3 separate regions of the Homo sapiens genome follow, and regions 2 and 3 are each linked to region 1. The links are contacts of gene promoters, found by promoter capture Hi-C in blood cells and fetal thymus (Javierre and others, 2016). All regions are on one chromosome and are shown on one strand. The core of a region is centred on a gene start or on the middle of the fragment in contact, and the rest is flanking DNA. Distances in the headings are between cores, read along the strand shown. Region 1 holds the start of PIWIL1 (piwi like RNA-mediated gene silencing 1). Region 2 has its middle 4.3 kb from the start of LINC02419. Region 3 has its middle 38 kb from the start of LINC02418.

Evidence for each region. Contacts are between HindIII fragments. The CHiCAGO score rates a contact against its expected background, and 5 or more counts as called.
Region 2: a fragment that was not itself captured here is called in contact with the fragment with the promoter of PIWIL1 in region 1 in 3 of 17 cell types (naive CD4 T cells, activated CD4 T cells and non-activated CD4 T cells); the score reaches 9.4 in naive CD4 T cells.
Region 3: a contact is called between a fragment that was not itself captured here and the fragment with the promoter of PIWIL1 in region 1, in 3 of 17 cell types (naive CD4 T cells, activated CD4 T cells and total CD4 T cells). The highest score is 8.6, in naive CD4 T cells.

What each region holds. Positions count from the first base shown.
Region 1 is chr12:130,335,568-130,339,948 of GRCh38, reverse strand. It overlaps PIWIL1 (piwi like RNA-mediated gene silencing 1), which reads right to left and starts at 2,062. Exons shown (of 21, transcript NM_004764.5): 1 at 1,803-2,062. It overlaps LOC101927786 (a long non-coding RNA gene), which reads left to right and starts at 3,709. Exons shown (of 3, transcript XR_242978.5): 1 at 3,709-4,381. The HindIII fragment of the contact is 10,112 bases long and covers 1-4,381 here.
Region 2 is chr12:130,073,495-130,077,741 of GRCh38, reverse strand. No RefSeq gene overlaps it. Among named protein-coding and RNA genes, the nearest start is that of LINC02419, 4.3 kb to the right of the region's middle. RefSeq lists an enhancer at 1,617-2,144. The HindIII fragment of the contact is 953 bases long and covers 1,308-2,260 here.
Region 3 is chr12:130,002,573-130,006,998 of GRCh38, reverse strand. No RefSeq gene overlaps it. Among named protein-coding and RNA genes, the nearest start is that of LINC02418, 38 kb to the left of the region's middle. The HindIII fragment of the contact is 2,920 bases long and covers 469-3,388 here.

The DNA.
Region 1 (4,381 bases), core at 813-3,312:
TGATTAAAAAACAGTGACAAGCTGAACTCTCATCTCCAGCAGGAAATATTCCTAAAGCAGCACGTCAGTTCTCAAAGCCTGGTCCCTGACGGGCAGCATCTGGACTGGCTGGGAACAGAAATTACGGGGTGGGGAGCGGCTCTCAGCCCTCCCGAGTTAGAAGCCGACTGGAAGCAGCCCTCCAGCTGATTCTCATCATCTCCAGGGCCTGAAACCCACGGCGGCGCGCTGTGCTGGTCACTAAATACCTGGGGGGCTCAGCGCTCTACGTCCAGGTTTCCCAGCACAACTCTGGTTTTCAGCTTTATCTCCTTCCAGTTTCAAAACCACCTCAGTCTGGATATTGAATTCTTAAAGTCAGAAAGCAAGTGTGTGCTTCCAATAACCACACTCGCTGGAAATCACCTCTCCGATTCGCTACCAGCTCTGCCAAAGACGCTTCCACCTAACGTCCCTCCGGCGCTGAGCTCAGGACCACGCCGTGCACGTGGGAACCACCACCGCGCCACACGCCTAAAAACCGTTGAGCGGTACATTCTATGCGAGCGGGGTCTCTCTGGCCACAACTTAAAAACGAAAAGAAAAGCGCTCAGAGAACAGGCTGCGCAGGGGTGCAGCCGGCTTTGCCCTGGAGGCCGCCGGGGCTGAAGACGGCGAGAGCATCCATCCCAGGACGCCACCGCCCCGCCGCCCCTTTCCCTCCACAGGTGCCAAGGGCCGGGCCGCCAGCACCCGCGAGGACCCCCGGGCCTCGCAGAGCCCGGCCGTCGCGGTCGCCGCCTCACTTGGGGTCCTCCGGAGTTCCGTCCTCTTCCCAACGTCCGGCTCCCAAGGCTCCCGGGGGCGCAGCGCAGCGGCGGCGGACGCGGGAAGGGGCCCTCGCCCTCCGCAGAGATCGCGCCCCGCGGCCGCGTGGGTAGTGCGGGAGGTCCCGAAGGCCCTCCTGCAGAGCTCTCAGGTCCCCGCAGTCTCACGCACGGCCGCCAATGCGGAGACCTCCGCCCCCGCACCCCCGGCAACTCAGGCCTCAGCCTCTCACCCCGGCCCCTGCACCTGGGACCTCGCCCCCGCACCCCGGCCCCTGCACCCCCGCACCCCGGCCCTACAGCCCCGGCAAGTCGGGCCTCAGCGCTTCCCCCCGGCCCCGCACCCCCCACACCTGATACATCGCCCCCGCACCCCGGCCCCTGCACCCCAGGCTCCTGCATCTCCCAAACCTGGGACCTCGCCCCCGCACCCGGCTCCTGCATCCCCCGCACCTGGGACCTCGCCCCCGCACCCGGCTCCTGCATCTCCCACACCTGGGACCTCGCCCCCGCACCCGGCTCCTGCATCCCCCGCACCTGGGACCTCGCCCCCGCACCCGGCTCCTGCATCTCCCACACCTGGGACCTCGCCCCCGCACCCGGCTTCTGCATCTCCCGCACCTGGGACCTCGCCCCCGCACCCGGCTCCTGCATCTCCCACACCTGGGACCTCGCCCCCGCACCCGGCTCCTGCATCTCCCGCACCTGGGACCTCGCCCCCGCACCCGGCTCCTGCATCCCTTGCACCTGGGACCTCGCCCCCGCACCCGGCTCCTGCATCTCCCACACCTGGGACCTCGCCCCCGCACCCGGCTCCTGCATCTCCCGCACCTGGGACCTCGACCCCGCACCCGGCTCCTGCATCCCCCGCACCTGGGACCTCGCCCCCGCAACCCGGTCCCCGCACCTCGAGCCTCACCTCCACATCCCGGACCCCCAGCCGCCGCCCCCGCATCCCGGCCCCCGCACACCTAGCACCTCAGCCTGGCCCCGCACCTTGGACCGCTGCCCTCGCCCTAGTCCTGGTCCTTGCACCTCAGCCCGAGGCCAACAGCCCCAACGGCTCCCGCGGAGATCCCTCCGCGCCGCCGACCTCCCAGGACCTCCTTCGGCCCGCGCCCACCTCGCCTTCGGCGCTGGGTTCCCGAGAGAGCCAGGGACACGCGGGCAGCGAGCAACAGGCGCTCTTTTCCCGGGCGGATGAACACCGCCTCCCGGGCGCCGGCCTCGTGTCTGTACGCCATACGCCCAGTAACGGCGGAAAGCGGCGCGCGCCACGCCCTCATTGGCTGCCCCGCAAACGGCGGTTTCTGATGTGGCCGGGGCGGGACCAGAGGAGCCCCGCCCCACAGGCCCCGGCCCCGCCCCTCCAAGACCCCGTCTGGCCCCTCCCGGACACCCGGCACAGGCCCAACAAGCCAGGCCCGCCCCGCCCCACAGGCCCTGCCCCTGGCCCCCCAAGACACCGCCTGGCCCCGGACAGACACCCCGCACATGCCCTGGCCCCTCCCCATAGGCCCCGCCCCCATCCCGCCAAGACCCCGCCTGGCCCTGCCTAGACGCCACGCCCAGGCCCCCACAGGCCCCGCCCCCGCCCCACAGGCTCCGCCCCTGTCCCCCCAAGACCCCGCCTGGCCCCGCCCAGACACCCAACACGTGCCCTGCCCCCTCCCCACAGGCCCCGGCCAGCCCCACCCAGGCCCCGCCCTGTTCCTCTTCTGCTTCGCCCAGACCCCCGGCCTTCCCTGGCTTGACTCCTGCAGTTCCCCCAGTGCCAGCCCCCTGCAGGCGGACACGGGGTCGGGCCAGTTCCCTACTAGCTCGTGGAACTGGGCGGCGGCGCACGAAGTAGACCCTCCATAGACTTCGAAATGGTGCCCACGTGGGCACCGAGCGCCCTACTGTAGCAGTGGACTCGATCTTGGTCTGGCCTTTAACGTCGGAAGCTCTTTCACTCAGCACACAGAGATTTGAACTTTGACCCCAAAGAAAATAAAACTGCAATGCAAGTCTAAGGTGCCAGGAGGCCGTTACCTGGAAATTTAGCTTTCAATGACTTGTGCCTTGGGTGCATGCCAACGTGGACCGCAGGGGTTCTCAGCCTTCACCTGCGGGGGATCACCTGCAGGGCTGGTTAGGACACAGACCAGAGATTCCGGTCTGCAGGCTCCACAGGTGGGCCCCGCCGGCTGCATTTCCAAGGCATCGCAGGTGGTAGCGACCGGGTCTACGCCGAGCTAGGTGCCCTCCATAGGAGTTAATTTCCTCATGGAGGCAAAGTCAACAGCCACAAAACAACCGGAAATATTGTAAGATAGAACAGGTTTATTTGTCAAGGTGGAAGTGGGACTGAGGCTCACTAACTGCCTGACCTGTTATGTTCCATAACTATAAACATGATTGTAGGAGGTAGTAGAAATAGGGTCGCCTCTGCAGACAGGTTTTAAAACTGCATTTATACGGTAAACATAGTGCTTTTCCTTTTTTTTTTTTGTGAGACGGAGTCTCACTCTGTCGCCCAGGCTGGAGTGCAGTGGCAGGATCTTGGCTCACTGCAACCTCCGTCTCCCAGCCTCCTGAGTAGCTGCGACTACAGGCACCCACCACCATGCCCACATAATTTTGTGTTCTTTGTTTTGTTTTGAGACAGGGTCTGGCTCTGTCAGGCTGGAGTGCAATGGTGGGATCATGGCTCCCTGCAGCCTCGACCTCCTGGGCTCAGGTGATCCTCCTGCCTCAGCCTCCCCTGTAGCTGGTACTACAGGTGTGTGCCACCTGTAGTAATTTTTTTGTATTTCTTGTAGAAATACGAGAAATACACCCAGCTAATTTTTTTGTATTTCTTGTAGAAAGAGGGTTTCATCATGTTGCCCAGGCCGGTCTCAAACTTCTGGGCTCAAGTGATCCACCCATCTTGGCCTCCCAATGTGCAGGGATTACAGGCATAAGCCACAGAGCCCGGCCTACATATTGCTTATTATTCATACTTAAAAGCGCATGCCTGGGAATCGGGGGCTGGAGAGGGCTGAAGGCTCCCCAAGCCACCTTCCCAAATCCTACGTCTCATCTGTGCCATGAAAGGGGCAGGTTAGATGTCAGCGTTTCCCACACTAGCCTGAGTGTAAGCATCCACTGAGGGAACTTCCAAATAATACAGACTCCCAGATCACGCTGATTCCAGGAGGTCTGGGACGGGTGCAAGGAATTTCAAGAAGTAACATCAAGTTATTCTTATGCTCAGAGAAGGCTAATAAATTTGGGGCGAGGCCAAAAGGCGTTGGAAGCCAGTAGTTTGAAAGAAAAATAGCTTTCCAAAGGCTTTCGCTTTGTAAAAACTAAATGGTGCCTTTTGGAATACAATGTGAACATAACTTTTCCAAGGATTTAAGGTGTTGATGAGAAAGACATTCTGAGACCTGCCAGCAGATGGAGCCATAAAACAAGAAATAGATGTTTACAGCCTCAACTCGGGAGAAAAATACCGTGAATGCACCTTACACTATAGAAGTAACACTTTTCCCTCTGCTTTATTTTCTCTATATGCTAAACTCCTTACTTGCCTCTGCTAAAGAACA
Region 2 (4,247 bases), core at 535-3,034, 260 kb after region 1:
CTGCATGATGTTTTGGCTGTGTCCCCATCCAAATTTCATCTTGAGTTGTAGCTCCCACAATCCCCACATGTCATGGGAGGATCTGGTGGGAGGTAATTGAATCATGGGGGCAGTTGCCCTCATGCTGTTCTCATGATAGTGAGTGAGTTCTTAAGAGAGTTGATGGTTTTATAAGGAGCTTTTCCCCCCTTTGCTCAGCACTTCTCTCTCCTGCCGCCTTGTAAAGAAGGACATGTTTGCTTCCTCTTTTGCCGTGATTGTAAGTTTCCTGAGGTCTTTCCAGCCATACAGAACTGTGAGTCAATTAAACCACTTTTCTTTATAAATTATCCAGTCTTGGATATTTCTTCATAGCAGCGTGAGAATGGACTAGTGCATTGCACCTGGCATAGACTTGTGTTTGAAACTGGCATCTACCATGACCACCACCATCCTTATCACTATCACTTTCATTTTGTGTATTTTTATTTTGCTTTATATAGATCTAGCTCCACATTAAATAAAGCCCAATGGTGGACGGGGGAGTGTTCCTAAAGAGTGGGTGTTTCCTGGACCCATTTACTCAAGGAGAAGGACAGATGGATAAGCGTTTACAAAACAAACAGCCTACAGGAAGTCTGGAAACTGTTTCAAAAACAGTCTATAACAGCAACCAAAAAAAAAAAATGTGTAGATGGTGATGTAATCTCTCTGGTAAAAGAGGAAAAGCAAACGGATATTGTCTGCGTGTAGAGCCGTGGGGCCACTAGGGCAGGATTTCCATTCTTAGAGGGCTCCTGGGACTGCCTTTGTCTGGCACTGGCCAGGGCTCTCACACCTCATCAGGGTTTGCAAAGACAACTTCTCACTTCCTTGAGACGTGCTTTTCATGGGACACACACTATAATGTGTATTAAGTTACACGTGCAAAAACAAGCACTTATGCATGCTTTAGGGGAAAAAAGACTAGAAGGAAATACACCAAACTGTGAGTGGTGATTATTTCTAGGATGAATACATATTACTTTTATAATCGGGAACAAAACACAATAAAGTACTTTTAAAGCAGATCTACTTTACCAGAGATGGAAAGTATTACAAAAGAAAATGCAGGACATTCACAGAAAGGTCCTAGGGAACCTTCCAATAGGTTCTCGTTCTTCACTTTGCTGACTGATGATCTTAGGAACTGTTTTAAAATTATGAAAATGTGACTTCATCCTGCATTTACTCCACAGCATCTGGAGAAGGAATATTGTAGTCTCATTTTGTTAAATTTTGTTAGTAAATAGGATGACAGTGTATCCTTTAAATTTTTTTTTAAAGCTTGGGTGTCCTTCCCTGAGATACCTGCATGTGAGCCCTGGCTCTGCCACCTCCTGCTCTGTGACCATGAGCAAGTCACTTAACCTCTCTAGGACTCAGTGTCCTCATCTGGGAAATGGGTGCAATGGCAGGGCCGAGCTCATAGGATCATGGGGAGGAATGGATGAGCTACTGCACACTATAACTCTTCTTTCCTGTGACATCCCTTAAACCGTCTCAGTTCTGTCTTCCAGAAGTTGCTCCTACTACCCTGTGGCCCTGGATGATCCCAGCAGAGTCTGCACCCCCTGTCTTTTGTCTTTTGGATCGATCAGGAACTCCTGTCATCTTTTCCTGTAAACAGATCCCCGTTGAACCGAAGTCTCCCTCCACCTCTGTCTCCCCACCTCAGACTCATCCTCCTCTCTAGACCATACCCCCTTGCTGGTCTCCCTGCTCTCATTCTTGCCCTGAAAGCCAGTTCTCTGCTGGGAGCAATTCCTCTAAAACTTAGAACAGGTCCTGCTCCCTCTGCTCCTCCACCATTCCCAACCACGTTTACAACACAATTGAAGTCCCAGCGGGGGCCTGTGAGGTCCTCATCTGCCCCTGGGAGGCACCTAGCTGCTCCAGCCCTAACCCCCCACCCACCAGGCTTTTGCTTGTAGGCCTCCTCTGTGGCAAGGCTTTCCCTGGCCATCCCACCTGAAACACATTCTGTCACTTTCTGTCCCTTTACTCAACGCCCTTCCTTCACAGGATCCACTGCGACTATAGCTCCACGTGGGTGTTTCTGTCCCAGATCTCCTGGTTACTGTCTCTTATTACTTGTTCTTATTTCATTGCTCATAGGAGTTGCATGGTGCGGTTTTGTGGGTGAATGAAAGACATACATTGACTTGTAAGCAACTGTTCCAGAGCAACAGACTCTGGACGTCCCAGCCCATCTGCAACTATTCGACTTGGCCCACAAGCTTTCTGAGGCCAGGCTGCACACGTCATCTGACCCTCCCTTCGGAGGAGCAAGCAAGGATGCAGGAGAATTTGTGGCCCCTAGGAATATCTCTGACGGTGTCTTCATTCACATGCACACTAAAGGGAGCACACCAGCTCCTCCAGACTAGCAGGCCCTGGTGACCTAGTTTCTGTCTTGAGGCTCCCAGACTTCAGGAATATTTATGCTGCTGTGATTGCATTGCTTCCCCCAGTCTTGAGTGCCCTCTGAGCATGTGAGTCCACTGGGAGGTTTGTGTTCACATTACTAAGTGTTCATAGCAATGTGAGGATGACAAGGAAATGACTAGAAACTGCTAAAAGCACAGGGAGGAGGGAAAACACTATGGCCCCTGATCTCCATGGTGTCTCATGTCAAGTGGAGATGTGCACATCGTGTGACCTCGCTGAGTTTCCGCAGGTGCCTCCCGCCTCGGGGGTGGAGGGGGAGCCCTTCACCAGCTCACTAGCCCCACAGGCCAATGTGGAGCCCCATTTTCTAAAGAGATCTCTGGTGGCTTTAAAATATAATGCATTATTTGATGTTCCACCCTTCAAGAGGTGAAAACTAATTCCTCCCCCTTGAGTGTGGGCCAGACTCAGTGACTCACTCCTAAGAAATAAAGCATGGCAGAAGCAATGGTGTGTGACTTCTGTGACTAGGTCATGGAAGTCAGGGTAGTCTCCTTCTTGCTCTCTCTGGGGATCACTCCCTCTGGGAGAAGTCAGGGGCCATGTCACGAGGACATGCAAGCGTTCAGAGCCCAGTGAGCACACCATCTTGGAAGCAGATCCCCCTTCTCCTCCTTCAGTGGCGGTAGCCCATCCTTGGCCAACCTCAGAGAGACCCTAAACCAGAACCCCTGAGCTACGCTGCTCCCAAACTCCTGACCCACAGAAATAAGCAGTGAATGTTTGTTGTTTAAGATGCTCAGTTTGGGAGGTAATTTGTGACCCAGCAGTAGACAACCCGTACCAGATCTCTGCTTCCTGGGACCCCCGTGTTCATGACTGCTTGACAGTTTCCTTTGCTGCACTCACCACCTCTCTGCCCTTTTGGGATTCCGTTGCCATAAAATGGAGACAATAACATCTATAGGGTCGTGGTGAGAAACAGCTTTAGAATAAAATATTTAAAGCCATCAGTGCAACGGTCAGCACATAGAAAGTAGCCGAAATTGGAGTTGTTTTCATTCCTGTGTAGATCCCCATGCCTGTCGGACAACATCATTCGTGCCGGTTATGACAGGCCTGACGGGCATGCACCCCACAGCCGCCTTCTTAACTGGCAAAAGGAGAGCCACTTTGCACCCCTCAGCAGTGCCCATAGGGCTCTCACACTGCCTCCATCCTCTAGTGCCCAGACACAGGCCCCTACAGCCACCTCTGGGAAGGGCATCCTGTTGCTTTCGCCAAACCTTCTGGGCACCAATGCAAAACTCTCATCTTCATTGCTTAAGTTTCTCCTAAAACTCCTTAAGGAAATGAATTCATTCTGGGCTCTGATGCTTTCTCAGGCCTGCCAGGACACACCTACATTCAAATGCAGGCTCTTGCTTACAGCTGATGATGCATGCGTTGATGACAAGTGTGCACACCCGTGCCAATGTGTACTGGCAAGATGGCCAGAGCTCTTACAGGAACATAAATCATTGAGTAAAATATTGATTTGGTACTTTCTTTCAGTTACTTTTTTTTTTTTTTGAGAAAGACCCTACTCTGTCACCCAGGCTGGAGTGCAGTGGCATGATCTAGGCTCACTGCAACCCCCGCCTCCCAGGTTCAAGCAATTCCCCTGCCTGGGCCTCCTGAGTAGCTGGGATTACAGGCACCTGCCACCATACCTAGCTAATTTTTGCATTTTTAGTAGAGATGAGGTTTCCCATGTTGGCCAGGCTGGTCTTGAACTCCTGACCTCAGGTGATCCACCCGAAAATCCAAGTTATCCCTTTCCCTTGCCTGCAACATTT
Region 3 (4,426 bases), core at 679-3,178, 330 kb after region 1:
GGAGACTGCGTGATGCTGCTTAAGAGACTGCTGGGGCATCAGCTGAAAATGGCTGCCACCCTCTGCGTAAAATCGTGCACCAGAGCTCTGCTGTGTCTATCATCTTAGCCTCCTGAAGAAGGGGAAGGACACAAAGACTGGAGGGAGGAGCTGGGTTTGGGGGATGAGCCAGAAGTGGCGGAGTAGAGAGAAGGCACTTCCAGGAATATTTCTGGGAGAGTGGGTGGGGAAGGTCTCCCCCTCCACCCTCAAGGGGAGGCTCCCCCTCTCAGCCTCAAGGCAGCAGAGAGCTGCCCCTCTGTTTGCTGCAGCGGCAGACAGGAGACGGGAAGGCCCCAGCGACCAGCCCTGATCACTGCATTTGATGAGCCGTTCCAGGTGAGCTTTGGAGAGTGGCTCTGGAGCTTCGATTGGAGAAGAGCATTCCTTAGCACCACTGGTACGGCTAACTTTCTGGTATTAAAAGCTTCTTACCTTTTCTTTTTGTGCAAAATACATGGAGATCTAAAATACTCAGCAAGTGCTCCATGTCCCACACAATTTTCTGACATACTGCTGCTTGCAAGGAGCTTTAAGGAGTCCCCTCTCTACCTTCTTGTTTTTGTTTTAATTGAGGTTACAAAAGGTCTCTCTGGTGGCCTTCAGCTGTCGGTCCCCCTCCTTGCTTCTAGCTATAGGCTCCCTGCCACTTCTGACAGCTCTGTCTGTTTCTGAAGGCCATGGACACTGGCAACTCAAGGGAACTTGGACCAGAGCCACCCACAGTCCAGAGCAGCAGATCTGGCTACCAAAGACCTACTGAGGACCCTCGAGGGTGGTGAGGCTTTGAGGATGAGGATGGGAACGCAAAGGTGGGGTGAGGCATCCCACCACCAAGTGGAGTTTGAGCCTGGAACAGCTAAAGCGATTAATAGAACCATGTCACCGAAAGACACCACCTCCTGGTGATAATTATGTGAAATCTGGATCCAGCCACTGTAATCTGGCCATCCCCTGGGCTTCACGGTTATCTGAGTTAATAAGTTAGCTTTTGGGTTAGGTGAGGCTGGGTTGGGTTTTGTCGGTTGAAATGGAAAGTGTCACATCTTGTAAGGTGAAGATGTGACATTTCCTCGGTGTAGGGAGAGCTGTCTCTGTACACTGTTCCTAACCGGGTGGACAGGTGCATCCTACAGGACTGTGGTGTCTCAAGGCCGTGGGCAGCAAACCCGCCTTGCAAGACATTGCCAGGTGCCCTGAGGTTCAGATGGGAACATTCTTTGCATAGACATTGAGACTATAATGGCAGAGGAATGACAAATCCCTGGGTCACTTGTACATTTCCAGATCCATAATAGTCCTTGAAAACACTTCAACTCATCAATTCTTCCTCAAGGGGGTTTTGAATAGAGCATGCAACACTACAAAGACAAGTTCTTAGCAGTGCCACAAAAACAGTTGACTAAGGGAAAAAGAATGATCTTACGTCAGCTATCTAAGAGTCTAAGACTGATTACAATATCAGGCTGCACCAAAATATTTGGAAGATAGAACATGGGAGGTAAGTCTAAGACTTGCCTTGTTTCTAGAAATAAGTTTCCAAACCCACCTGGAATTATCTTTATGTTCTACTCTTTCCAAATGCCATCAGTCTACTCGTAATAAAAACATCTAAAGTTGATGAAGCACCTCCAATATTTCGGATATTGGTCTACACAGATTATCTCATTTAATCTTCTGATTGGTCTACACAGATTATCTCATTTAATCTTCAAAATGGCTCCATGAGGCAAGGGTTATTCTTATTTCCTGTTACAAATAAGGAAACTGAGGCTTAGAAAATGGTTCTCTGCCAAGCCTTTTCTCGTCAAGTAAAAACACTATATAGCTTACGTGTAAGCCAGATTCAAAGACAGGGAGGCAAGGGCCAGTTTCCAGAAGAAAGGGGTTACTGTTCTTGGGCAAAGGGGATTGTTAAGGAGACAAAAACAAATATCCAACAACACTTTCTGCCAAGCAGACTGTTTTGTGGGTGGTGGATTATAGTGGAAAACAGTCGTCTGGTTTTCTGATATCCGTTTACTCTTCTCCAGGCCGGAGGGATTGATTTGCCTTGGCAAAGGTCACCCCTTCTCTCACTCAGCTCATGTGCTTCAGGTGGAGCTGAACCCAGCTCCTGTTCCAGAAGTGGTTATAAGATTCAGGCCTGATCAATCAGAGGATCACATTCCCCTAAGGATATTGGTTCAGGAGTGGTCATGTGACTCAGGCCTGATCAATCAAAGGATCTCATTCCCCTAAGGATATTGGCTCAAGAGTGGTCACGTGACATGGGCCTGATCAATCAGAGGATCACATTCCCCTAAGGATATTGGTTCAGGAGTGGTCATGTGACTCAGGCCTGATCAATCAAAGGATCTCATTCCCCTAAGGATATTGGCTCAGGAGTGGTCACATGACTCAGGCCTGATCAATCAGAGCTTCACATTCCCCTAAGGATATTGGTTCAGGAATGGTCACGTGACTCAGGCCGGATCAATCAAAGGATCTCATTCCCCTAAGGATATTGGCTCAAGAGTGGTCACGTGACACAGGCCTGATCAATCAGAGCTTCACATTCCCTTAAGGATATTGGTTCAGGAGTAGTCATGTGACTCAGGCCTGATCAATCAGCATCTCCTGCCCCTAAGGATATTGGTTCAGGGATAAGCATGTAATCAATTAGAACCTATGGGACTGAAAGAAGCTAAGTTGATTTTGTTGTTTTATTTACCTATTGCAAAAGAAACACTCCCTCACACTTTCCCCCAGGCTTGACCTGAATGGCATTTGGTTTGGAGCTGTTGGCTGCCATCTGCCCACCGTGTGGGATCTGGGGAAAAAGCTCATGTGGAGACAGGAACACTGAGTCCCTGAGACACTGTGGGTGTTCCTGGATCAAGCGGCTCCTGAAACCCATCTATCCCTCGAGTTTTCAAATAATTGACTCCTAGATAAGTTTGAGCTATTTTTAGCCATTATAACTAAAATAATTATGACAACGATTTAGTTATGGAGAGAGGTTTATAATTCAACTCACATTATTAAGCACCTGCTGCATGCCTGGCTCTGCACACATGTTATCACATGGAATTCATGCGATCATCCTGTGGCCTGTTTTGCTTGATTTTTCAACAGATGCGGGAATGGGGCTTACAGAGGTCAGGTTTTCCCATGTCCTCAGTCCCATTTTTCCCCATCCAAACCACTGTAGCTGCTATTTCCAGTCCTTAAAAGTCCTAGTTTTTTTCCTTCATTTTGAGATATCTTTCCAGAAATGTCTCCTTTATACTACACAGAATGACCCAGGCATATAAGAACAAAATAGGCATGTGAGTGTTGGAGGGGAGTTGGTGGTAAGGATGAAGCTTTCTCCAATCATTGATGTGAAGCAGTCCAGGGACGTGTTGTCATTCTAGCTATTTATGTAAAACAGTTTTCCAAGGAGGGGGGATTTGGACAATGCTCGTAGATCCCTCTCCATGTTTAAGCACAGTAATAAAACTCAGAGCAGCGGGCAAAGCAGGGCCTTGGGGGAAATTTTCTTTGTGGGACTGTAGGGGCAAACTGTGGAACTTCTTCTGACTGTTCCTGTAAATCGGCATGGTGCTGGGAGCTCAGGATGAACCAGATTCTCCCAACAGAATAAAGAATGCCCTTTCCTTTGAACATCATTTCATCATGAGGATTCCGGGTTCAACTGAAAAATGAATTTTCAGTGGCTGCAATTCTCCAAGCTTTGAGCTGCTGGGCACTGGTTTTCCAAGCAGCACCTGGAGCTCGGTCTCTTCTTTGCCATGAACCTCTGCCCAGGTTCGTTATTATGCTTTGATTGAACCGATAATACCCATTCCTGTCAGCAGAATGAGGCAATACACAGTGCTAAGAGGAATCTCCCAGCCTCACACCTCCCAAAGGAAAATACTGCAAGGAAACAGACCCCACTCTTGGAGAGTTCATTGGAGCAAGCTGCATGAAGGAACTGTGTCCAGAGGAGCAAGTAGAGTTAATGAATCCCAGAAGGACAAGGAGGCACCCACAGAGTAAAGGGGAGTGACCATCCCCCAGGCTGAAAGGGCTGGGGAGGCAGCCTATTTCTGGAGCCCAGTGACTGTGAGCTGCAGGAGATGGTGTGCTGAGAGAATGTGGCTGGCAGCAAGGGCGGGAGGAAAATACCTAATCTCTTTTTCCTCTGATCTATCAGCCTCATGTCAGGTACATCCATGGGCTAAACTTCCATTGAATGCAGCTTCCTGGGACCTGCAATAGGCAGAGGGGTAAAGAATGGGTCTAGAGGGATAAAGGGAGGCTGAGAAGCTGAGTTTATATCTGTGTCGGTGTCACCTGTCACTAGAGTCTGTTACGTCTGGAAGAATATGATGGTGCCATCTGTCACCTCAAAGCATGA